Regions from separate parts of the Homo sapiens genome. Here all the other regions are linked to region 2. Evidence: promoter capture Hi-C in 16 types of primary human blood cells and fetal thymus (Javierre and others, 2016). All regions are on one chromosome and are shown on one strand. Each heading gives the region's core, a stretch centred on a gene start or on the middle of the fragment in contact. The rest is flanking DNA. Distances are from core to core; before and after follow the strand shown.

The links. The method cuts DNA at HindIII sites, captures the fragments that hold promoters and counts their contacts. A CHiCAGO score of 5 or more calls a contact.
Region 1: a fragment that was not itself captured here is called in contact with the fragment with the promoter of IMMP2L in region 2 in 12 of 17 cell types (naive CD8 T cells, non-activated CD4 T cells, total B cells and 9 more); the score reaches 20.6 in naive CD8 T cells.
Region 3: a contact is called between a fragment that was not itself captured here and the fragment with the promoter of IMMP2L in region 2, in 2 of 17 cell types (total B cells and naive B cells). The highest score is 12.9, in total B cells.
Region 4: a fragment that was not itself captured here is called in contact with the fragment with the promoter of IMMP2L in region 2 in 6 of 17 cell types (total CD4 T cells, total B cells, naive B cells and 3 more); the score reaches 9.2 in total CD4 T cells.
Region 5: a fragment that was not itself captured here is called in contact with the fragment with the promoter of IMMP2L in region 2 in 11 of 17 cell types (total B cells, naive CD8 T cells, naive B cells and 8 more); the score reaches 15.1 in total B cells.
Region 6: the fragment with the promoter of CBLL1 here is called in contact with the fragment with the promoter of IMMP2L in region 2 in 2 of 17 cell types (fetal thymus and total B cells); the score reaches 6.9 in fetal thymus.

The regions. Positions count from the first base shown.
Region 1 is chr7:108,528,283-108,532,084 of GRCh38, reverse strand. LOC124901722 (a long non-coding RNA gene) reads right to left here. Exons shown (of 2, transcript XR_007060473.1): 2 at 2,303-2,634. Among named protein-coding and RNA genes, the nearest start is that of PNPLA8, 4.0 kb to the right of the region's middle. The HindIII fragment of the contact is 4,198 bases long and covers 1-3,798 here.
Region 2 is chr7:111,560,776-111,564,417 of GRCh38, reverse strand. IMMP2L (inner mitochondrial membrane peptidase subunit 2) reads left to right here and starts at 1,926. Exons shown (of 6, transcript NM_032549.4): 1 at 1,926-2,567. RefSeq lists a silencer at 1,765-2,394. The HindIII fragment of the contact is 1,654 bases long and covers 1,432-3,085 here.
Region 3 is chr7:107,893,366-107,896,995 of GRCh38, reverse strand. All of the region lies in intron 2 of DLD (dihydrolipoamide dehydrogenase), which reads right to left. Among named protein-coding and RNA genes, the nearest start is that of DLD, 4.0 kb to the right of the region's middle. The HindIII fragment of the contact is 1,229 bases long and covers 945-2,173 here.
Region 4 is chr7:108,509,705-108,513,780 of GRCh38, reverse strand. The region is part of intron 4 of PNPLA8 (patatin like domain 8, phospholipase A2); the gene reads left to right. It also overlaps the pseudogene RPL7P32. Among named protein-coding and RNA genes, the nearest start is that of PNPLA8, 14 kb to the left of the region's middle. The HindIII fragment of the contact is 1,864 bases long and covers 1,546-3,409 here.
Region 5 is chr7:108,546,174-108,549,960 of GRCh38, reverse strand. It overlaps a transcript of THAP5 not described here. Among named protein-coding and RNA genes, the nearest start is that of THAP5, 22 kb to the left of the region's middle. The HindIII fragment of the contact is 1,590 bases long and covers 1,601-3,190 here.
Region 6 is chr7:107,741,741-107,745,675 of GRCh38, reverse strand. It overlaps CBLL1 (Cbl proto-oncogene like 1), which reads right to left and starts at 1,534. Exons shown (of 6, transcript NM_024814.4): 1 at 1,500-1,534. The coding sequence starts at 1,512. CBLL1-AS1 (CBLL1 antisense RNA 1) reads left to right here and starts at 1,095. Exons shown (of 2, transcript NR_144537.1): 1 at 1,095-1,303; 2 at 2,273-2,923. RefSeq lists enhancers at 1,060-1,239, 1,590-1,809, 1,907-2,425, 2,426-2,945 and a silencer at 1,850-2,049. The HindIII fragment of the contact is 5,122 bases long and covers 1-2,743 here.

The DNA of each region.
Region 1 (3,802 bases), core at 450-2,949, 3.0 Mb after region 2:
GAATTGGGATACTGAAAATTTTACTAATGAAAAAAGGGAGGCTTGTGGGAATTATTTGCCCACAGTATCACAACCAGTAAATGGTGAGGGAGGACAGGACTCCAACCTTGCCTTAAGTCTGAAGTTAAGCAATGCAAACATTGATACTTGCCTATAAGAAACTAACATGCGCCAGGGCACAGTGGCTCATGCCTGTAATCCCAGCACTTTGGGAGGCTGAGGCAGGCGGATCACAAGGTCAGGAGGTCAAGACCACCCTGGCCAACGTGGTGAAACCCTGTCTCTACTAAAAATATAAAAATTAGTCGGGAGTGGTGGCACATGCCTGTAACCCCAGCTACTTGGGAGGCTGAGGCAGGAGAATCACTTGAACCTGGGAGGCAGAGGTTGCAGTGAGCCAAGATCACACCACAGCACTTCAGCCTGGGCAACAGAGCGAAACTCCATCTCAAATAAAAAAGTAAAAGAGGCCGGGTGTGGTAGCCCACACCTGTAATCCTAGCACTTTGGGAGGCAGAGGCGGGCAGATCACCTGAGGTCAGGAGTTCAAGACCAGCCTGGCCAACATGGTGAAACCCCGTCTCTACTAAAAATACAAAAATTAGCTGGGCGTGGTGGCAAGCACCTGTAATCCCAGCTACTTGGGAGGCTGAGGCAGGAGAATTGCTTGAACCTGGGAGGTGGAGGTTGCAGTGAGCCGAGATCGCGCCACTGCACTCCAGCCTGGGCGGCAGAGTGAGACTCTGACTCAAAAAAAAAAAAAAAGTAAAAGAAAGAAAGAAAAGAAATTAACATGCAATTGAATATGGGGGCATTTTTAGACTTATTCCAACTTTTCAACTGGATGAGTTGTCATAGAAATAAGCAAGGCATGGAATAACCTACAAAAGTATTAGGTAAAAGGTAAAATCTAACTCAGATTCAAAAGTAAGTTGGAGAAAATACAATTATGTGTCCTTAATATCTTAATTTTATGTTGCTACTCTTGTGCCAAAACCTTAGCTATAACCTGTCTATTAATAAAACTATTCTTTCTTCACCCAGAAAATCACCTTATATATAACTGGTTTATTTCCCACTGGTTTAGTTCCTCTAAGATGTCCCAGCAGGAAGCTGGATAAACTGGTCTCAAGCCTGATAGAGAGGCCTGAACTGCAGGTATAAATAGGCAAATTCTTTAAGGCAGTTTTTAAGGTGGAGAAAGAATGATTTTTTTATTAAAAGGTTAAATAGGAAAACAGTAAATATGACAACAACAGGACTCCTCATCTTCTTCAAATCTTGCCCTCTCATGGTACCAAAAAAATGTACTTAAAACTTAAATTCCACCATGTTATTCTTTTGTCTTAGAATCTGACAGTGGTTCTGATCACCCAGAAGATCAGGTCCAAGTTCTTCAGCTCTCACCCAATCCTTATATTACATTTCCAGTACAAACATGGAACACATAGTTCCCTTCATGCACTATGTTTTTTCCTGCCTTATTGCCTTTTATTACAAACATCACTTCTCTCTGTAAAGCTCTCTCCTTTCTCTTCCCACTTTTACCACTCCACTACTGCCATCTGTCTTGCTAGCAACATCTTTTAAGACTTGGTTCAGAAGTTCCTTCCCAACACCACAGGCTGGGGTAGGTATTCCTGCTCTAGACTCATAATATCCAGTTCATGTCTCCATTAGTGCTCTTTCTACATTAATAGTATTATTACCTAAGGTTATATTTTGAGTTCCGTGACAGTGCTTCAATTTTTTACCTCCAGCAAATAGCTTGGTGCCAGGCACATAGTAAGCACTCAGTAGATAATGGCTGAATGAATAAATTCAATTCTTTCAATATGCACTCACCAAATAGTTACTGAACAATTAACTTTTTTTTTTTTCTTTTTCAAACGGAGCCTCACCCTGTTACCCAGGCTGGAGTGCATTGGCGCGATCTCGGCTCACTGCAACCTCCTCCTCCCGGGTTCAAACCATTCTCCTGCCTCAGCCTCCTGAGTAGCTGGGATTATAGGTGCCCGCCACCACGCCCAGCTAATTTTTGTATTTTTAGCAGAGATGGGGTTTCACCATGTTGGCCAGACTGGTCTCCAACGCCTGACCTCAGGTGATCCACCCGCCTCTGCCTCCCACAGTGCTGGGATTACAGGCATGAGCCAACGCTCCGGGCCACACTTTATTAATAATTGCTGTGCCTTGGTGCTAAGGATCAAAACAGAAAATCCTTGCTTTCATGTTTTCAAACTATATAAAGATAATTATATTAATTTCCTATTGCTGCTGAAACAAAACACTTCAAATTTAGTGGCTTAAAACAACTCAAGTTTATTATGTCACAGTTCTGTAGGTCAGAAGTCCAGCAAGAGTTGACTGGTTCCTCTGTTCCAGGTCTCATAAGGGTGAAATCAAGGTGTCAGCTTACCTGAGCTTTTGTCTGGTACCTCTGGGGAAGAGTGTGCTTTCAGTTTTATTTAGGTTGTTGACAGAATTCAACTCCTTGCGGCTGTGTGGCTGAGGTCTCCATTTCCTTGCTGGCTGTCAGTCAGGAGCCGCTCTTGGTTCCCTATGGCAACCTGCATTCCTTGTCAAATTGTTCCTCTCATTATCTTGATCTCTCTGACTTTCGCTTTGCCACATCTGTACTGATTTTAAGGATTTATGTGATTAGATTGGGCCCACAGAGATAATCCAGGATTATTTTCCTTTCTTAAAATCTGTACCCTTAATTACATCTGCAAAAAGTCCCCTTTGCCATGTAAAGTAGCATATTCACAGGTTCTAAGGATTTGGGCATGGGCATTTTTTAGAAGGCCATTCTTCAGCCTACCATGGTGATTATTCTTCTAGAATTATTTTCTGGCATATCCCTCCCTTAGGTGATCTGGAGAGATATCTTGCACCAATATGGCTTAATTTATTTTGGTTATAATGTTAAGTTTTATTTGAACAATAAAGATATTAGCAGCTCTTTTAAAAAGCTATGAACCAGACCAGAAAGGAGTGACTATGGATGTAGAAGAGCTAAAATAGATAAATCAATAATAAACCTTATAAATAGAATGAGCATAGCAAGTAACTGATACAGGGCAATGTGATGTCTCTTTTACCCAGCTTCCAAAGAATATAGCGTTGAACAATTACTGTATTTAGCATTATTTCAAGTATAGATGATTTCCTGAAGGCATTAGTCTGCTATTATACACAAGATAATCTCCAATTTTGCATACTACTGAATTTGTTTGAAATTAAATATAATTCTCTTTTGTCTCAAAACTGCCCAACATCAAAAGAATCATAAATGGGTTTTATTTTCCATTTTTAACTTATCAAACTAGTAATCTAAATGAAACTAAAAATCAATTCAATAATACAGAATTTTAGAGAGTCTACTATTTGTTGGATGTTACGCTAGATCCAGACAATACAGTTTACCTTACGCTCCTTGACTGCAGGAAACTGGCAGGCATATAAACAAATAAATTATAATACTGTGCAGCAAGGGCAATAAGAGAAGTGAGCACAGGTGGAAGGAATGATTCATTCTATGAGTAGTGAGGTAAGATTTTCCTGGCTGAAGGACAAACAAATCTTTAGGAGGACAAGGTGGAAGGGGAGCTAAGCCAACAGCATGACCAAGGCACTAAGTATGAAAAGGAACAAGAGTATCTGGGGAAGTACAGGTGTGGCTGGAGGATAGAGAGTGAGAGGCAAGTGGTGAAAGTAAAGGCTGGAAGGTCAGCAGGGTCAGAACCTATAATTTCATTCGGTATATTCTGTGAAGATGTACAGCCAGCAAAAGCTTTTT
Region 2 (3,642 bases), core at 677-3,176:
TTCCTAGTGACCAGGAGCTCCATTCAATTTGGGGTCATGGTACCAAATAGTTCTTGACTGCTATTTGATGAGGGTGGTCCTGTCACCTAAGTGCTCTTGAAATTAAGTCCTTAAGCACTGGCCGAAAAGAGCTTACTTTGCAGTAATTATTTCAGTGACAAGTAAGAAAAACTGGGACATATCCCCTTCACAGGAGAGCAATTTTGCTCTCTTTAGGAAACTCTTGGAATTTTAGTTATCAGGCTATTTAAGACCCTGAGTAGATTCTTAAACCTTTAGAATAAATTTTGAACCAAGAGTGCCAGAATGTCTGTTATTTACATTAGTATTAAGTGATCTGAAAGTGCACAGAGTAGTTTGGCAGTATCTAGAGGGAGAATAGAGACAGAAATAATGAAGATACAACTGGAGGAGTAAGAAAAGGAGAAAAAAAGTATTTTATGTCTGTTCAGTATTTCTAGGTGCCACTGCTGCTAAATGCCTGGGCTTCAGCCTAGGTTGGGTTGCTCCTAGCAAAGAAAACCAGTCCCTGAGACAACGAGTATTGCCAGGGAAGACAGGCTTTAATGCAGGTGATGCTGGCAGGGAGACCAGTCTCAAACATGTCTTAGGGAGACTAAAGTTAGGGCTTTCTATAGCAGGGAATTATGGAGGGGTAAGGAAGAGGAGTTTGTGAACAGGCAGCAGATGCACCTCATTGTCCAGATGTAGTGTTCTGGAAAGTTGCATTTCCTTGACACTATCTGGGAGGTCTGACAGTTTATCTGCTGAGAAAGGAACTCAGGTAAAATGCACGCAAGTTTCTCAAGTTTCACTTCGAAGGGAAAATTTGGCCGGTTTCGGTCTTCCCTTTCTATTTATCAATTCCTCAATCATGCGGAATCTGGTAGTTGATCTTTCTGGCTGCTTCACGTGAAGGAAGGGCATCTTGGGATGATATGGAATGAAAATATCGCACCTGTAATTGCAAGTACTTACGAGTACCTGGTTGGCATCCAGCTTGTTGGAGCACCATGATTTGGGTACTTTCATCAACATTTTAAACCACATTGAATTAGGATAATTAATAACATGGATAAGAAGGTTTCTTTGTAGGTTGTAATAACCCAGTTAAGAGTTTGTACCATTCGGCCGGGCGCAGTGGCTCACGCCTGTAATCCTAGCACTTTGGGAGGCCTAGGTGAGCGGATCACGAGGTCAGGAGATGGAGACCATCTTTGCTAACACGGTGAAATCCCATCTCTACTAAAAATACAAGAAGATTAGCCGGGCATGGTGGCGGGGGCCTGTAGTCCCGGCTACTAGGGAGGCTGAGGCAGGAGAATGGCGTGAACCCGGGAGGCGGAGATTGCAGTGTCGCTCTGGCGACAGAGCGAGACTCCGTCTCAGGAAAAAAAAAAAAAGAGTTTGTACCATTTGAGGGCAAAAGCTTCAGTATGAAATTCCCGTTTCTCTCAAGTAAACCGCCTGTCCTGTGTTACTCACTTTGTTTTACCTGGAGGCAGCAAAACTGAATAGTTTTCCTGAGTGCTCATGAGTAGGAAAAAATGAAATGAAGAGTTGCCCAGAGATCGCTAGTGAGGTGCTTTGCCACTACTGCCCTGTACTTAAGTAACTGTGAGGGTTCTCTGTTTCCTGGCTTCTAAAACAAGAGGAAGAGCTGAAGACACAGTTTCATAGACTTTTCGGCTCTTTATTGTAGTCTCCCCCATTAGTACGTTGCTGAGCTTAGGGCAAGTGCTCAATAATAGCTTGCTGAATTAGTGTTGTGTTTGATCCTTTCAGATCCACGCCGCATTTTGAGCCCGACCTGGGCGGGCGGTCCAGAGACCAGTTTTCCGCCGGGGGCGGAGCTTCGGGCGGCCAGCGCGCGACGGGGCAGCGGGGCGGAGCTTGCCGCCGGCGGAGGGCGGGGTCTGCGCGGGGACTTCCCCCGGGCTGAGCTGCGCAGCGGGTGCGGAGGGCGGGCGCCCGGCGTCCGGCGGCGGGTGGGGGGCTGTGAGGCTGGCAGGGGTCGGCGGGCGCGTAGCCGCCGACCCTTGGTGGTCTCTTGGGCTGGGGACCCTTCCCTGGGAGTCGGCCCCGGCCCCGGCGGGGCGGGCGTTGCCGGGAGGCGGAGGGGTGCGCGGCCGCGAGTCCTGCGTGATCGCGAGCATGTGTGCGTGCGCGTGTTTATCTGAGGCGCGTGCGGCGGCCACCCCAGCCTAGTCCTCTTCTTGGTGCCACTGGCTAACTAGGTTGAGAAACCGGCGCCACAGGCGGCACACCTGGCCCGGAGCTGGCCCGCTCCTCCCCGCCGAGCCGGCGCCCCAACAACGCGCCCTCTCCCAGTCCTCACAAAGGGGCCTAGTCCGGCCCCCGGCTCTGGCCGTGAGGGAGCGCTGTGGGGGCGCGCTGCCTTCTGCCTGGAAGTGTTGGGCAGGTGGTGGGAGAGCGTCAGGCTTGAACAACATGATTTTAAAGCACGTGTCTGTCTGTCGTTTTTTACTTTTAGGGTTTTGGCCAAATTGGGCGAGGGCACAAAATAACCACTTACCCCTTCTCACCGAGGAAGAGCGGGAGAAAGGGTAAGTAAGGAATGGTCAGGGGTGGAAGGACCTAGGACTTTATCCTGAGAGCGAGCGAGAGAGAGAAGGGCTAGATGTCCAGAACTGCTCGTGGGGAACTTGGGCCCAGATTCTACCTTTTCATCGGGAACTGGAGGACCCACCTTCAAAGTCACAGGCTCCAGGCCCCGGACTGTTTTCAGCCTCACACAGTCTATAGAGTTTAACAGCTTGGGCATGTGGATCCCTTTTAGCCCCTTGACCCGACAGAAAACTGCACTTCCCCTTTACCTGTTTTTACCTTGGAACATTGGTCCTCTCTAGTTGTCTGTCTCCGGCCCCTATCTTATTAGCCAGCTTTGACTAATCCCTGAGACCATAGCACTAAAGAATCCAGGTCCTGTTTGATAATGAACAGTAACCCCCCTAGGGATGTTTACATTTTAAAAGGGTACTCCTGAAAAAATCCTTTAGGACCCCAAAGCATAAAGTTAGTAACAAGATTACAAGTGTTGAAGTTCTTTGGGATCTCTCAAGCTTACAGAAGAAGATGTTTTGAGGGGAGAGAGATGACCAGGCTGGGCCTTTTTCTCTGGGCTTTCACTCTTGGTACCTCCTGGCAAGCATTCCATTCACTTTTGAAAAGTTGCCAAAAAGGACACTGAAGTTCTCTGAGGCTTACTGTGATTTTCAGTGTGGTCTATTTCATTGGTTCTTCTGTGGGACTTTTCTATCACTTCTTTAATACACTGCTTCCCTCTCCCCTGTATGGTGAAATGAAACACAGCTCCTCTCACAAGGTTGGGAGCTCATTATGCATCCTATATGTCACATATAAATAACCGTTTTAAATTAGTTGAAATTCAGATTAGCTACAAGCAGGAATGTAGTAAAACTGCATTCTTGGATTCTTACACAGGAAAAGTAGAATTGCCCTCTGTGATAGGCTGCCTATTCTGATACTGGCTGCCTGTGTCCTGAACGTGCCTATTTGTTTGTGCTCAAGTGATAGGTGACCACATAATTTATGGAAAACAGGAAGTGATTGTTTATTGATAATGGGTTCCTTCATTGATTCAATAGCTAATTCTCTCTT
Region 3 (3,630 bases), core at 310-2,809, 3.7 Mb after region 2:
GGGCTGGTGGCAGGCACCTGTAATCCCAGCTACTCGGGAGGCTGAGGCAGGAGAATCACTTGAACCCGGGAGGTGGAGTTGCAGTGAGCCAAGATCACGCCACTGCACTCCAGCCTAGGGGACAAGAGCGAGACTTTGTCTCAAAAAAAAAAACAAACAAAAACAAAACCAGATTTTTAAAAAGAAAAAACGAACAGGAAAAGAGATGTCATAAGGCAATAATCATTAATTACCAAATTTACTGAATGTAAGAACTACTTGATAAGGTTTATTTGTTGACATTTTGTTGAGGGGTAAGGGAAGTTGTTTTTACATTGTCAATGGCCTTAATATCCAGTCTTTTTCAGTAACCTCCTCCCATAGTTAACACTCTATACTTGTTATCACCCAAAACTGTTCAGCCTCTGAAATCAATACTCTACTTTCTAGTCATAACCTCCTGGTCCCTAAAGAAGAAATATAGTAAAATAAGAAATGATCTGAAGTAAAACAGACCTGGGTTCCAAACTCTAACCCCGTTAAGTTCTTGGGCAAATTACTCAATCTCTCTGGGCTTTGATACAACATGGGGGTAATAGTAAGGATGACACCTGCAGCCTAGGGTTGTGAGGATCAGAGAGTACGCATGTTAAGATCCTAAGGAGGTGCTAGGTGCATACTAGCAACTCAGTGTCACTCCCCTTCTCAGATCCACCTCCAAACTTCAGTCCAGCAGCCTCTAGCCTCATTCACATCCTCCATTTTAGCCTACCCAGTGCTACCGCAAAGCTAAAACCCAACTCAGATGTTATTCTCTCTGTTGTTACGCTCTGTTGGTTCTCCAGTGTCTTGTTAGATAAAGCCCATGTTCCTAAGTACAGCATCCAAATTCCTTCAGTAACTATTTCTCCAGCCTCATCTCCTACCACGTTCTGTTTACTCACCAATACCATGCAGTTTAAGCTTCAGTAACGGTGAATTACTACTCTTAGCCTACATGCATAGAATTATGCTGGTCTACCTATGTACGATCTGTTCCATCTACCTAGAAATAAACACTAACAGCAGGCATTTCACATTACAAACACTACTTTAGGCTCTTGGAGGGGTGTGTCTGCACATGCTGTGTCTGTGTGTGTGTATATATAAATGACATAGCCCTATTTCTTACAGTCTAAATAAAAAAAAGAATTACAGTAAAAGGTCCAACCTGTAACGAGAGTTACTCTCAACCTTTTTAGCTATCAACATAATTCCTTAGGAAAGAATTATGTGACCATTCCCAATCCATATATAGATGTCATTACTCCCTATGCTTAAGTCTATGGACCCCTGTCACAATTATATGTTGGATGTTTGTCTCCCTCAACTGAATTGTAAGCTCTATAAAAGCTGGGTCTTGTCCGTCTTGCTCACTGCGGTACTCCAGTAGTTAGCCCAATGACTAACACATAGTAGATATTAGTATTTGTCGAAATAATAAAAGAATGAATGAATGTAGTGAATGTGAGTGATATAAGTGCTGTAAGTTTAAGTGTTACAAGTTTGATTAAGTGCTGTCATGAAATAAAACGTCACATCAACAGTAACACACACAACTTTGCAAATTCTGATGAACCTGGTTCATAAGGCTATTCAGACATCTCTCAGATGTTGTAACCAAGACTATATCATAATAAGATTTGAACTCCTCAGGAGAGTCAATCAATACTCATGTAAGGAAGAAAACTCAATAAAACATTAACAGTGTAGGCTCTGAAGTCAAAAGGATTCTCCCAGCTCTGTCATTTCCTAGTTAAAAAACCTAACTCTTCCATCTATAAAATGGGGAGAACAGCAGCACACAGGTAGTAGAAAGGCCATGAGGATTAAATCTGTGCCTGAGACAGAGTGAAGCCCTCAATGCATCAGTTAATATTATTGCTGTTGTAGCTGGTTACTTACTTTGTACAAGACACCATACTGGATGCTTTGCCACAGAGCAGTAATTAAAACAGACCAGGCCCCAGTGTTCATTCATTCAATAAATATGTACTGATTACCTACTGTATCACTTTAGATACTAAACAAAACAGTCACACACAGTCCCTGTCCTGATGAAGTTTGCATTCCTGAGGAAAAGACAGTAAGCATGTACCTCAGATAAAATACAAGTATGTGTGTAAAATGCTTGTTACTGCATCCACTCAAAGCTTTTACACACTTTACACACATGGGTACTAAGTGATTTATGATTTACTCAATGTCAAGGGATCACCAAACTGATTATGGAACACTCAGCCTCATTCCACTAAAATCTAAGTTCTGGCTCAGGGTCTGCCTGGCAAATAGAAGGCACTGAATAATCTCTGCTGAGTGATGCCAAAGGTATAGAGTTAGCCATGAAAAATATCCTTTAGAAATGAAAATCTAACATTTCTCCTGTTATATGAGTTGAGAAGAATGAGATTCCTATTTAACAAGAGACAAAGTGTATAAGAGGTCCAACTTTTCCCTTCATCATCATATTAGCATTTTTTTAAAAGGATTTCTTGACCTGTTCAAAGCTAGAATAAATCACTCACTCACTGTTAGTCATGGGTTACTAGAATCCTCCCCCTACCCTTCCTCTAGAAATAAAATATCCAAAATGATAATGGTTGGATAACAGTTGAGGATACAGGATTAAATTACTTCACAGAATGCAGGGAGACTGATAGTCACAGTTTGCCCAGATAATGATTTCTATAACTGAAGCTTTAAGACATCCAATGTTACTTATAATCCATATGGGTGAATTCAGTAAATGTCAAAACAGTACATTGCAAATAATCAATATCCTTGGTACTGACAGGTCAAAATACTTCAATATAATCCTATTAACTTTCTGTTTTAAATACTTAAAAAAATAAAATGCATATCCTTTATGGGAACTTCAAAAATATAAAAAAAGTACACAGGAGAAAATTCCATGACCCATAGCTTCCTTTTAGATCCTGCTAATCTTTAAAACATGCTTTTGATAAACCCATGAAGACTTTCATTCAGGATGTCAAGAAAGTCATCTCATCATTCTAAACAGTGTTAAAATAACCAATACAACCTTACTCAACGGACAAAATTAACTTTTTAAATGTAAACATATGAAATTGCTGCCCTGCTCAAAACCTTTGTTTCCCATCATACTTGGAGTATAATCCAAACTACTAGACCTGCCTTACAAGGCACTCCATGATCTGTCTCCTGCCTACCTCTCCGACTTTACATTGCATGGGTTTCTGCTCCAGTCATACCAGCCTTCTTATTACTCCTTAAACTTCACAAGCTAAGTCCCACCTCAGGCCTTTCTCAGTGTTGTTTCCCTCTGCCTGAAGTAACCTCACTCCCCCACTTCACTCAGGACCCTGCCCAGACATCATCTCCTCAGAAAGGCCTTTCCTGACACTGTATCTAAAATTATCTCTCTTCCTCCCTATTACCTGCTTTAATTTTCAGTTACTTCCCAAAATATTTATCCATTACTTATATATTGTTTGTCTTTTATCACCAAATTACAAGTTTCATAAGAGCAGGGTTTTTTTACCTTGTTCACCGCCTGGAACACACTAGCTCAATATACATTCAAACGAATAAATACATGAACAAATGAACTATAAGACACTTAACATAAGT
Region 4 (4,076 bases), core at 1,228-3,727, 3.1 Mb after region 2:
TTTTATTTCATGGTCCTTTCGTATTTGAAAGTCTAAAAATTTGAATGACCTTACTCATAATTGAATTAGTAATCATATTAAGTAAAACAATGAGCTTTTCTTTGCCTCAGTTTTTTCAACTATAAAATAATGAAGATAATTTAGACCCACTTAAATGGACTGTTTTCAGAGAAGTGCTATAAAATATGACTAATGTGATTGAGTCTCTTTACATCTATATTATTAAGATTATTTGTAATATTTAATGAAAAATTTGAAAATATCATAATGATAGATACTGCTTACATTTCATTAGAAATCTATTAGTGCTTATTTTTAGCTTGGCATTCAGAAAATTGTTTTAACTTAGAACACATTTATTCTACTTTTTAACAATTACCTTGTTGAAAAATTGTCTTTGAATAATGTACCCATCCTTACTTGTGTATTGTATAACACATACATTATTATAGGTAGCTTCACTATTTTATGGTCCTATAATTTGGGATTATATTTTATATTTATATAATCTTACATAAAAGATAAGATTCTCAAATATACATATGCTTTTAAGTATATTTCACATTTCAGTGATATACTGAAAGCAAAGATCTTAAATAGAATTACATACTGGCTTAGTCCATTTGGGCTGTCATAATAAAATACCTTAGCTTGGGTAATTTATAAACAACAGAAATTTATTTCTCATAGTTCTGGAGGCTGGGCAGTCCAAAATCAAGGCACCAACAATTTGATGTCTGGTGAGAGTCCCGTTCCTCCTAGACAGCAGCTTCTCATGACCTACTTAGATGGCAGAAGGGGCAAGGTGGCTCACTTCAACCTCTTTTACAAGGCCAGTTGTACTACTGATGGATTTCTGAGTAGTTTTCAGTTGCAGTTTAAATAGTCTTGCTAATTGAAACTCTGAGGACTCTTTTATCTTGCATAACTAATCCCAAATCTAAGGACCTTTCAATACTATGAAAAAATGTAATATAGGAATATATATTCAGATCAATTATGAATAAAAATCTAGGTAGTCTGAAAAAAGTTGTCACCCTTCCCTTAAATAATCATCTGAAAAACAGTGAACTGGACAAATTGCATATAACGTGTCAGCATGTACACTCTAGTGTGAACTTTTCCAGCTAAACTTTTTGTTATTATCAAGAGTTGAGCTTTTTAAAAATGATAGAATTTTTATAAAACATCTGTATCAATTTTACTTTTTTATGTGTCTACCATATTTAAGGTAGCTAAATACAGGGAATTATGTCTGATACGTAATGCCCTAAAAAAAAATGAGTTACTTATTTTGTATGCTACATTTATGGCAGCCACATTTAGGGAATTGTCTGTGATAATTTTTTCACTGTGATGAAGGTGGTCTCCTTTCATTATGTTTTTTAATTAAAAAGAAGAACTTTGACTGTTTAGAAAGAAGGCAGCACAAAGCATTGTAGGGAATTAGAAGAAAGAAAAGATAAGAAAATAAAAATAATATATTTTACCCTCAGATTACCACTGTAATGTATTAGAGTTTATTTGTGTTCATTGGATTAAGCTTCCTTAAGCTCTAATAGCAAACAACACCGAAATCTCAGTGACTTAACAAAACAGTTTTATTTCTGGCTCATGCAAAGTTAACTGTGGGTTTGGGTGACTCTTTGGCACAGTGAACCTCCGTGTGGTGGTTACTTAGATCCTGTCCTGTTGTCTGTATTTTAATTGAGTCTTCCTCTCTGATTTCTGTGGCAAGGAAATAATATTTCAGCAGAAGTTGCCACGGGTTTCTTCTACTCACAATCTGTTTATCCTGTCCGATTGCATGGGCCTGAAAAGTACAACCTTCTGTATGCTTGGAAGGGGAAGCAAACAGTGTATTGGTGAACATTAGTAATGTCTGCACAGTATTCCTTCAGAAATCATTCTATGCACATATATACCAAAATAAACTCATTCTGTATATGTTGTTTTATAATCTGGTTTTTTAGCATATAATGTATACCTTTCTATATCAGTAAATGTCCCTTTATCCTGTACCCAGTTTGAAAATGTTATTTATGTAACTGATTAGATCCAAATGAGGGTTCAGTCTAGATCACACATTGCATCTGACTATTTCTCCAAGTCACTTAAAATATAACGCAGTCCTTCAGCCACACCTTCTTCACCTGCACCTTTAAAACTGATTTAATTGAAGACATTAGGCTGGTTAACAGGCAGAAAGACTCGCTTTCTGGATGTACCTGCCTTCTTCCTTCTCAGTGTTATTTGAAGTGTTCCTCTTTCCTTTTCATTTCCTGAACACTGGAATTTAAATATAATGGCTTGATTGAGTTAAACATTTTGTTGTTAGAGCACATTGTAGGTAATGTCATGTGCCTCATAATGCATCATATCAAGACACACATGACAATTAGTTGAACAACCATTAGTAATGCTAAGGATGACCACCGTGTTAAAGTGATGACAATCTGCTTCTCATTGGACAATTGTGCTAGAAGCATTATCTCATCAACCATTAACCTAATCATTTCCAGAACTAATAATTTCATTAGAGTTGCAGAATGACCAATGTCTAATTCTGTTACTCCTACATTATAATTGACATTCTTCTGTAAAGAAGAGCCTTCCTTCATCAACTGAAGCTATTTGGGTATTCTCAAAGGCAAATTTTACAAATTTTACAGGAAAGGAAAGAGAAATGCTTAATTTATTTGTATTTAGTTACCAGTTTTCTTTTTTTTTTTTTTTTTTTCCAATTTGAGAGCAGGTACTGTTTATTAACCAACCAGCTTAGAGAAATAGTCATGGTAGACACCTTAGTTCATTCTTCTAATAAGCCTGTTGATCTGGTCCTCCCTGTTGCCAGCATCTCCACCTTCTACAAAATGGGTGGTCTTTTTCTTCATTCCACCTCGTGGAGAAGACAATTTGAAGGGCCACAGGAAGTTATTTGCCTCTTTGAAGCGTTTTCCAACAGTATAGATCTCATGAATCAGATCCTCCATGCAGATGATGCCATATTTACCAAGAGATCGAGCAATCAAAGCGTTATCTGTCAAAGCAATTCGCTTCTTATTGATTTTGCCATAACCACTCTTGTAGATTAGTTCATTTACTGACTTCAGATTGGGGTACCCCCATGCAATATATGGCTCTACAATCCTCAGCATGTTAGTCGAAGCCTTGTTGAGCTTCACAAAGGTTCCATTGTAGATTTGACGAAGGCGAAGAAGCTGCAACACCTTTCGGACCTTTGGGCTCACGCCACTGATACCTCTGATTCTGATGACAAATGCCAGTTTGGGTTCTGCAGGTACAAAGTAGTTGCCAGCTTTTCTTGCCATCCTCGCCATTCGAATTTCAGTTCTGTACATCTGCCTATATTCCCTGTGATAGTGCTTTGCTTTTTCATAGATAAGCTTCCTCCTTGCCTTTCGAAGCATCTTTTGGGCAAACTTCTTTCTCAGGCGCTTCATCTTCAGCTCTGAGAAATTCCTTCGCTTTTTCTTAAGGGTTTCTGGCACAGCAGGAACCTTCTTCTTCTCTTCTACACCCACCATGGTTCCAGCCGGAAAAAGAGCTAGTTACCGGTTTTCTTTCTTTTTTTTTTTTTTTATTATACTTTAAGTTTTAGGGTACATGTGCACATTGTGCAGGTTAGTTACATATGTATACATGTGCCATGCTGGTGCGCTGCACCCACTAACTCATCATCTAGCATTAGGTATATCTCCCAATGCTATCCCTCCCCCCTCCCCCCACCCCACCACAGTCCCCAGAGTGTGATATTCCCCTTCCTGTGTCCGTGTGTTCTCATTGTTCAATTCCCATCTATGAGTGAGAATATGCGGTGTTTGGTTTTTTGTTCTTGCGATAGTTTACTGAGAATGATGATTTCCAATTTCATCCATGTCCCTACAAAGGACATGAACTCATCATTTTTTATGGCTGCATAGTATTCCATGGTGGATATGTGCCACATTTTCTTAATCCAGTCTATCATTGTTGGACATTTGGGTTGGTTCCAAGTCTTTGCTATTGTGAATAATGCCGCAATAAACATACGTGTGCATGTGTCTTTATAGCAG
Region 5 (3,787 bases), core at 1,146-3,645, 3.0 Mb after region 2:
GAAGCAAAAGGAATTCCAAGCTGGTGGTGAAGGAAGGGCCCCAATACAACGTTACTAGAGAGCCACCAGTCCAAATGACAACAATAGGTCTGGAGGCTCAGAAACATCGAGTTCTTCAAATGAAACATAAAGTTCTTCAAAGATGGAAATCATTAGATTAACTAATGTGTTGAATATCTGGAGAGGAAACTCACTCATCTGGGGTAGAATTTAGGGTTAAATTAATGATAAAGCACAGAGAAAACTATGCAAAGAATCCAGACTAATATTGACATGAAATGTGCATGGAAGATCAAACTGTCATTTCTTCATACATAACTGCATTTACATGGTCAAAATAATGTAAATACAATATAACCACTTACACAATGTATATTGGGAAGATAGAAGGTAACATAGAAGGGTGTGTGTGTATGCTCATGTTTGTGGTTGGGTCAGAAGCAAGGGGTAGAATGACAAGGTAATTAAACAGAGCAAATCCTCATCTACCATAGTGGAGTGTCAAAAAGACAGTGCCTAAATCCAAAACTTTAAAAATATAGGTCAGATGCAGTGGCTCACGCCTGTAATCCCAGCACTTTGGGAGGCCGAGGCGGGCGGATCATGAGGTCAAGAGATCGAGACCATACTGGCCAATACGGTGAAACCCCGTCTCTACTAAAAATACAAAAATTAGCTGGGCGTGGTGGTGTGCACCTGTAGTCCCAGCTACTCAGGAGGCTGAGGCAGGAAAATCACTTGAACCCGGGAGGTGGAAGTTGTAGTGAGCTGAGATCCTGTCACGGCACTCCAGCCTGGTGACAAAGCGAGACTCAAAAAAAAAAAAAGTACTTGTGTGTGTGTGTGTGTGTGTGTGTGTGTGTGTGTGTGTATTAAGCATGTTATTTTGAGAAATATAGGTAAATACACAAAGAATCTGCAATATGATTAGAAGCGGTTGACTCTGGAGAGCAGAAAATGAACTAGGACTGCAGGCTTTTGTTTTGTTTTGTTTGCAATAAGGCTTGTAGAACACTGGGTTTTTAAGAATATGTGTAAGAGCTATGGGCTCACTCCTATTCATCCTTCAGGACTGATATGGTTTGGCTGTGTCCCCACCCAAATCTCATCTTAAATTGTAGCTCCCATAATTCCCATGTGTCCTGGGTGGGACCAGTGGGAGGTAATTGAATCATGGGGGAGGTCTTTTCTGCGCTGTTCTCATGATAGTGAATAAGTCTCATGAGATCTGATGGCTTTATAAAGGGGAGTTCCCCTACACAAGCTCTCTTGCCTGCTGCCTTGTAAGACATGACTTTGCTCCTCATTTGCCTTCAGTCATGATTGTGAGGCCTCCCCAGCCATGTGGAACTGTGAGTCAATTAAACCTCTTTCCTTTATAAATTAGCCAGTCTTGGATTATGTCTGTACTAGCAGCATGAGAACAGACTAATACAAGGGCTGACCTATTCGTTATTTTATCTAGAAAGCCTTCATTTGCCCTTCCAGATAACCTTCATATTTAGTCTGTTAGCTCCTTTTACTTAATCCTATTATCATTTCTATCATCCAGTGTCATTATTGCTTCTTTACTTGTTTTTTTATCCCCAAAGTATAAGCTTTTTATGAGCTTTTTAGCTTCATTGTCTAGCACAATTCCTAGTACAAAGTCAGAGCTCCATAAATATTTTTCAGGTGAACAATAGCACCTACTAAGCCATATTTCAAGAGCTGTTTTGCTGGGTCTAATTCTGGCTCCACATTGAGACAGTCAGCATATAAATTAACCAATTTGCAGCTCCATGAGTATATTATTGTCCCATTATTCAGGCAGGTCCTGTTAAATTATTAACTTGAATTGTAGTGTAAATAATGCTACTTTAAATCTCTCCTGGCATGTTATAACCAGTACCTAGAAAAGGTGCAGTAGCATTCCCTCCAGGGTTGGGGACTGGACCATGGGAGGCTTTTAGGAGGCTCATTGGATCCTCTAAAATTTAATGCAAAATTTCATGTGCATAGGCATTTTTCACAATTTCTATTAAGATTAAGAAAGGGATAAATTACCCCTCAAAATTTAAACACCACTGCTCAGGGCAATAATAGCTTACATCTTACCTTGTGCCATTCTTTAGAGAAACAAAAGCTCTTTACGTATTTTATCATCTAAAAACCCTGAAACATAGAAATGGAAAATCGATTATTCTAGACAGGTTAATACACAAACAACAGCTCAACTATGTGATTTTAATTAATCAGGAATAGAACTAGGACTAAAAGAAAAAGTGTCCCATATCTAAAAGCAGGCTTGATAAACTGTACACAGAATTCTTACAAATCTTAGACGAATACTGCCTCATAATTTTAGGGAAAATAACTTTTAATGTTCAAATTACTATATAGAATATCAGAAAATAAATTTAGGGATTAAGTAAGTATTCTTTTGGATCGCTGGAAAATAATATGTAAGTTCAAGTCTTGCTTTTGGTTACAGAAATATAATTCAAAATGAGAAGCAATGGAGTAGGAGCTAATTTCAGAGAGAACCTAATCTTTAGTTTTATTCAGTGCATGGTTCATGTTTTCCATTAATAAAGATGTGTGGTGTTTAAATATGCACAATGAACTAGAATATTATAAATGTGAAATGAGGTTAATTTCATTGAGCTTGCTACCTTGGTTAGTCTAAATGAAAATGAATTCACTGGCATGAGACTAGAATGTACCTGAACCACGGATGAAAAATAAGTTAATCCGTTCATCAGTGTGGTATTAAAAGATGAGAAAGAATTTTTGAGGGAGTAGAGAGTGACAGATGACGGACACTATACAAATTGTTCAAACAATTCCCAGAATGTCATTAAATAAGAAATGTCTATTCCTTTTTTGGAACATTAAATAATATGCTCAAGAAGCATTTGTTTTGCCTTGTTAAAACTTGGTGCTTTGAAACACCCTTCAGCATATCAACTTCCAGTCCACCTGGATAGTTTCCTTAATTTGGGAAATGATAAAACACAAAGGGAAAACAATGTTCCTTAATATAGGAGGGGCATAGAGCTGGGATCCAGCTCCGATTTATTTTATTACCAATGCAAGCGAGACTGAAACATCTGGTTTGCATTGGTAATATAATTTAGTGAGGAGGTAGAAGCACATTACTAGGTATCATCACAGTAATGTATTTCTGAAGAGTACTGTAAACAAAGCTTTTTAATAAAAAATAGACAACAACATCAGCTCAAGTCATGCAAAGGTAAACTGCTCATTCCTTAGCAATAGCAAAATACTAAGTGAGGCGACAGCACTATTAAGAATAGAGAATGGAGCACCCTGGTTTTAAACAATAATTCTTGATATGGGAAAACTTGCTTCCAAACTTAGATAAAATGATCCCACAAATTCCTCCTTCTCCTTCTCTTCTTCCTCCTCGTCCCCTTACGATTCCTCTTCCTATTTTTGTTGTTGTTGTTAATCTGGAGCAAAACTGAAACCAGAACTTTTCAGGGGCAGCGGTGTGGGTAAGGGTCCTATGTATCACTGAAGAACCAGTTCAAATATCACCTGTTCCAGGTGTACACACCAACTGGTTGTTTATGCCTGTCTGAACACATTCTATTCATTATTATAACTAAATCACACTTTGCTGTGTAATTGCCTCTTTATGTATCAGTCTCTGTGACTGCTCTGCAAGTTCCTAAGAGGTGGAGGCCAAAACTTGTTTTTGGCACCTAGCAAGCCCTCAAATTTTTACAGAAAAACAGGATGATAATAATATGCTATCTCTTGTGGCCTTATCTGATTGACA
Region 6 (3,935 bases), core at 285-2,784, 3.8 Mb after region 2:
CTTCCCTTCCCGTCTACTGCAATCAGCTATTTTCCATCATTCTTACCTCCCTCTCTTACACCATTCTTCATAGAACAGCCTATTGTATTTTTTAAGAGACTGTGTTCCTCCTCCACTTCTGTTCAATGGCTTCATATTCACTTAAATTAAAATTCAAACGTTTACCACGGCTTTCAATGACCTGAATGATGTGCCTGCTGCCCTCCTTTCCAATCTCACTTCAGGACTCCTACCCTCTGGCTATTAGGAGGCTGCAGCTGACTTCACTGTATCTTCCTACCTCAGTGCCTTCGCACTTGCTGGAAATGCTCTTCCTCTTGCTTTTTTCCCAGGGCTGGGTTCTTCTCATCCATCAGATCTTAGCTTCCACAAAGACCATTCCTAACAACCCTCTCTGAAATTTCGTCCTATGAATCTCTCCACAGCACTCGTTTATTTTCTTCAAAATAATCCGCAAACATTAAAAAAATAATAAATTTAAAAAAAAAGAACGTATTGTCTGTGTTCCTCCATAAAACAGAAGTTCTATCACGGACCTGGTCCGTCTCGTTTACCATTCCATCTTCCATCTCCCGACCTATAGATATCTGCATGTATCTTGCATAAATAAACATACACACCTACATAAATAAACATACACACCTAATTATATAACCAAGTAGATATCTGATGAGTGAGGACAACTCAATACTCAAGAAAAAGCCTTTTTTTCTCTATTTGTGATACGGTCGCTATAAATGTATGGGGCACATAACTCCAAGAGCACTCATTCAATATCCAAGAACCACAAAGAAGCAAAAGCCAGAAAATACATAACAAAGGGTGGAGCCACTCTTACTTGGAGAAAAGTATGAGAATGCCTTGATTTTAAACTCCTCTTTGTAAATACCCTCAAATGATGAGTAAGGACCTCAGCCGAAGCGCGGGGCATGCTTTTGGTTTAGGTAGAAAAACTGCTCCGAGTTTGATTCCAAAAACTCTATCAGACTCCCTTCTTTCACCCCTCTAGTCCATAAAGGATCGGAGAGACGACAGGGGGTGACCACTGCAGCACCCGCCCAAAGCTGACTGAGACAGCAGGAAGTCTCCAACCCATTCTCGCCCGTCCACTCCCAGCGTAAAGAGGATTCCGCGACTCGGAGACCGCAATCTACCCGCCAGTCTCCATAACGTAGGCCAGAGCAGCTGGGCTAAATAAAACAGAGCCGGGGCTCTCCCTTCCCGAAGGCCTACATCGCCCACTGGTCCGGGCTCGGAGCTCAGCAGAACCAGAGTAGGAGCGGTTGTTGCCGGCACGGAGGAGGTAGGTACCACACCAGACGGTAGGCCAGGAAACCGCAGGCCCCTGCCGGGCACAGGAAGGCATCTGTGAGATTTCTTCTCACTGCCACACCCTAGTGTTGTGGGGCGAGCATAATCCCTTTTGCCTGCTGTGCGACCAGCCCCAGGCCGGCCAAGGGGGCTTGGAACCGGGACCCCCACTGCCTCCGCCTCCTTACCAGTGTGATCCATGATTCGGCTCGCAGAGCACAGTGGGAGCGGAAGTCAACCGCGCCGGAGTCGCAGCGAGCGCGTGCGCACTGCCTTCCGGAGGCCGGGAGGCGGAAGTCCAAGCAGGTTGTCCCAATTTTGGCCTGCAAAGACTTCCTTCTCTCGCCTCTACTATCCAACTCCTGTGAGGGACTCAGGCATAGTTCGGGCGGAGGCAGAAAGAGCGAGCGCGCGAAGAACTTCGGTATTGAGGTTGCTAAGGCTTCTCCTCATGTGCTTCAAGAGAAAGTAGCCTTTAACTGTGGAAAGGACACCAGGGGGACCGGGGAAGGGGAGAGCAGTGGTAAAAATGAGCCAGAAGCAGATAAGGCGACTGCCCGCCCCGCGGAGAGCTGCCTTCTGGGACTTGTAGTGCGCGGGGCCCCCGGAGCCGGCTGGCTGCGCAGGCTCGGCCGTTGCGCTGGCCCCACCCCGGCGGGCGGAGTAACGGTTTGGAATCCCCCGGGGTCAGCGAGCGCTTGTTTCCTCCGCCTGGTGTAGCAAAAGTGTAAACACGCGCGCTCCGGAAGGCGCCCTCCAGTGGGAGGTTGCTCAGGGGATGGCGGAGCTGTGAAACTCGGAGCTAGAAGGAAAGTCTCAACGCTTGTCTAAATTTTGCTTTGTCGTGACGAGCTACCTAGACCCACGCAGAGCTAACTTGGTATATGCCCCGGTTCCCATCTCTTAAGTCTCTTTACAGTTGAAACACGTTTATAATGCTTGACTGCCACTCACTTTCTAGGGAGAGCGCTTGTGACGCTACGAACCTCTCGAACACCTGACGACTGGGCGCCAGGGCCGGATGGAGGGTGGAGAGCCAGTGCGGCGCAGCTGCCTCCTCTTAACGGGGACACCTTGCAGGAATGTGCGGAGTGGAGCTAACGGGAGCGGATAGAAACCGAGGGAGGGGAAGAGAGCGCGAAGGCTTGGCCGGAAGGAGAGGTTAAAAAGGAAAGGCCTAAAATGAGGAAGAGAGTTACCACAACAAGCAGTACCTAGTTCCAGTTCTTGGTCCCAGGAGTTTGTGGTTGTTGCTGCTTTCATCTTCCTCAGCCAACACAAAAGGAAAGTGCCAAGGGGCGATTCCTAGGACCTTCAGTGCAGTCTCCACCTTGCGGACTTGGCTCATTTGTGTCCACTCCTTTCTCCAGCCTTTTACACTTGATGCTCTTGGATGAATAGAAAGGAGCACAATTAATGGAAAACACAAGCTTGGGAGTCAAGGGATTTGGGTTCTATTCTTGTCCTCCCTTGGTGACGACATCATTACCTTGGGTTATTCAAGCTTTCAGTGCCAGAGTTCCTATATCAATAAAAGATTATTACATTGACCTCTTAGAGAAATGTTTTCATGGTACTGAATTGCAAATAAAGTATGTGTAGCGATGTGTTATATCTTTGTAGTTGTACGGTATTATTTGTGAATCATGCTGTGATGATCAGTGCGATTTAAGTGCACCATGTTATTTGGTGATTATTTTCCTGAGATCTTGTAAAAGATTTTTCTGCTCTATATATGCAGCTTTATAAACAAGTTTTTAGGTACATTCACAACTAAGGACATTTGTGAATCAAAATTACCCCTGCTTTTTTTAAATGTAAAGTTCTGTATTGCTAGGTGGTTTTCAAGATGCTTTCAGTTTCTGGGATTATTGTTTTGGGCATTGGGGCTTGCCTAACCTTTTTCCCATACCTCCCTATTTTTCTAAATACAGTGTTGATATAGTCAGGCATTTTTCACCAATTTGGGTTTTTTTTTTTTTTTTAAGTTTTCACTTAGAAAGTACTTCTTTTTCATATTAAAAAAATTTTTTTTAGAGATGGGGCAGCCCAAACTGGAACACAATGGCAGAATCATAGCTCACTGCATCCTTGGACTCCCGGGCTCAAGGGGTCCTTATGCCTCAGCCTCCGGAGTAGTTGGGACTACAGATGCTCATCACCACCACTGGCTTTGATTTTTTTGTTCTATCATACTTAGCCTATCAGCTAACGGTTAACCTTCAGATTCATGGAAATCCAGGTTCAGAATAGTATTATTAATGTCTGCTGATGCTAATATTTAAATAATTAGAATTAAAAAGAGCTTTCAAATTGTATTTTATATAATTTAACCTGTAAGTTAGAAGTTTTGTTGGCATTTTATGGTGCATCAAGAAAATTTACTGAGAGAAGATGTACTTACTTTAGATCTGATAAAATGTTAAACATTTGTTTGATTTGATTTGACATCTCTTACTTTCAGGCATTGCTTTAGCATCTGTGGTCTGTATTTACCCCCTTAATTGTGGTTGCCTTGAATTACCAATGCAGTAGCAGTGTGATAAATTAATTTCTTTACCTATGTTTTATTACTGCCCTCTAGTATCTCTTTTCAGCGACCAGCGTGCTGTAACCAGTCACAA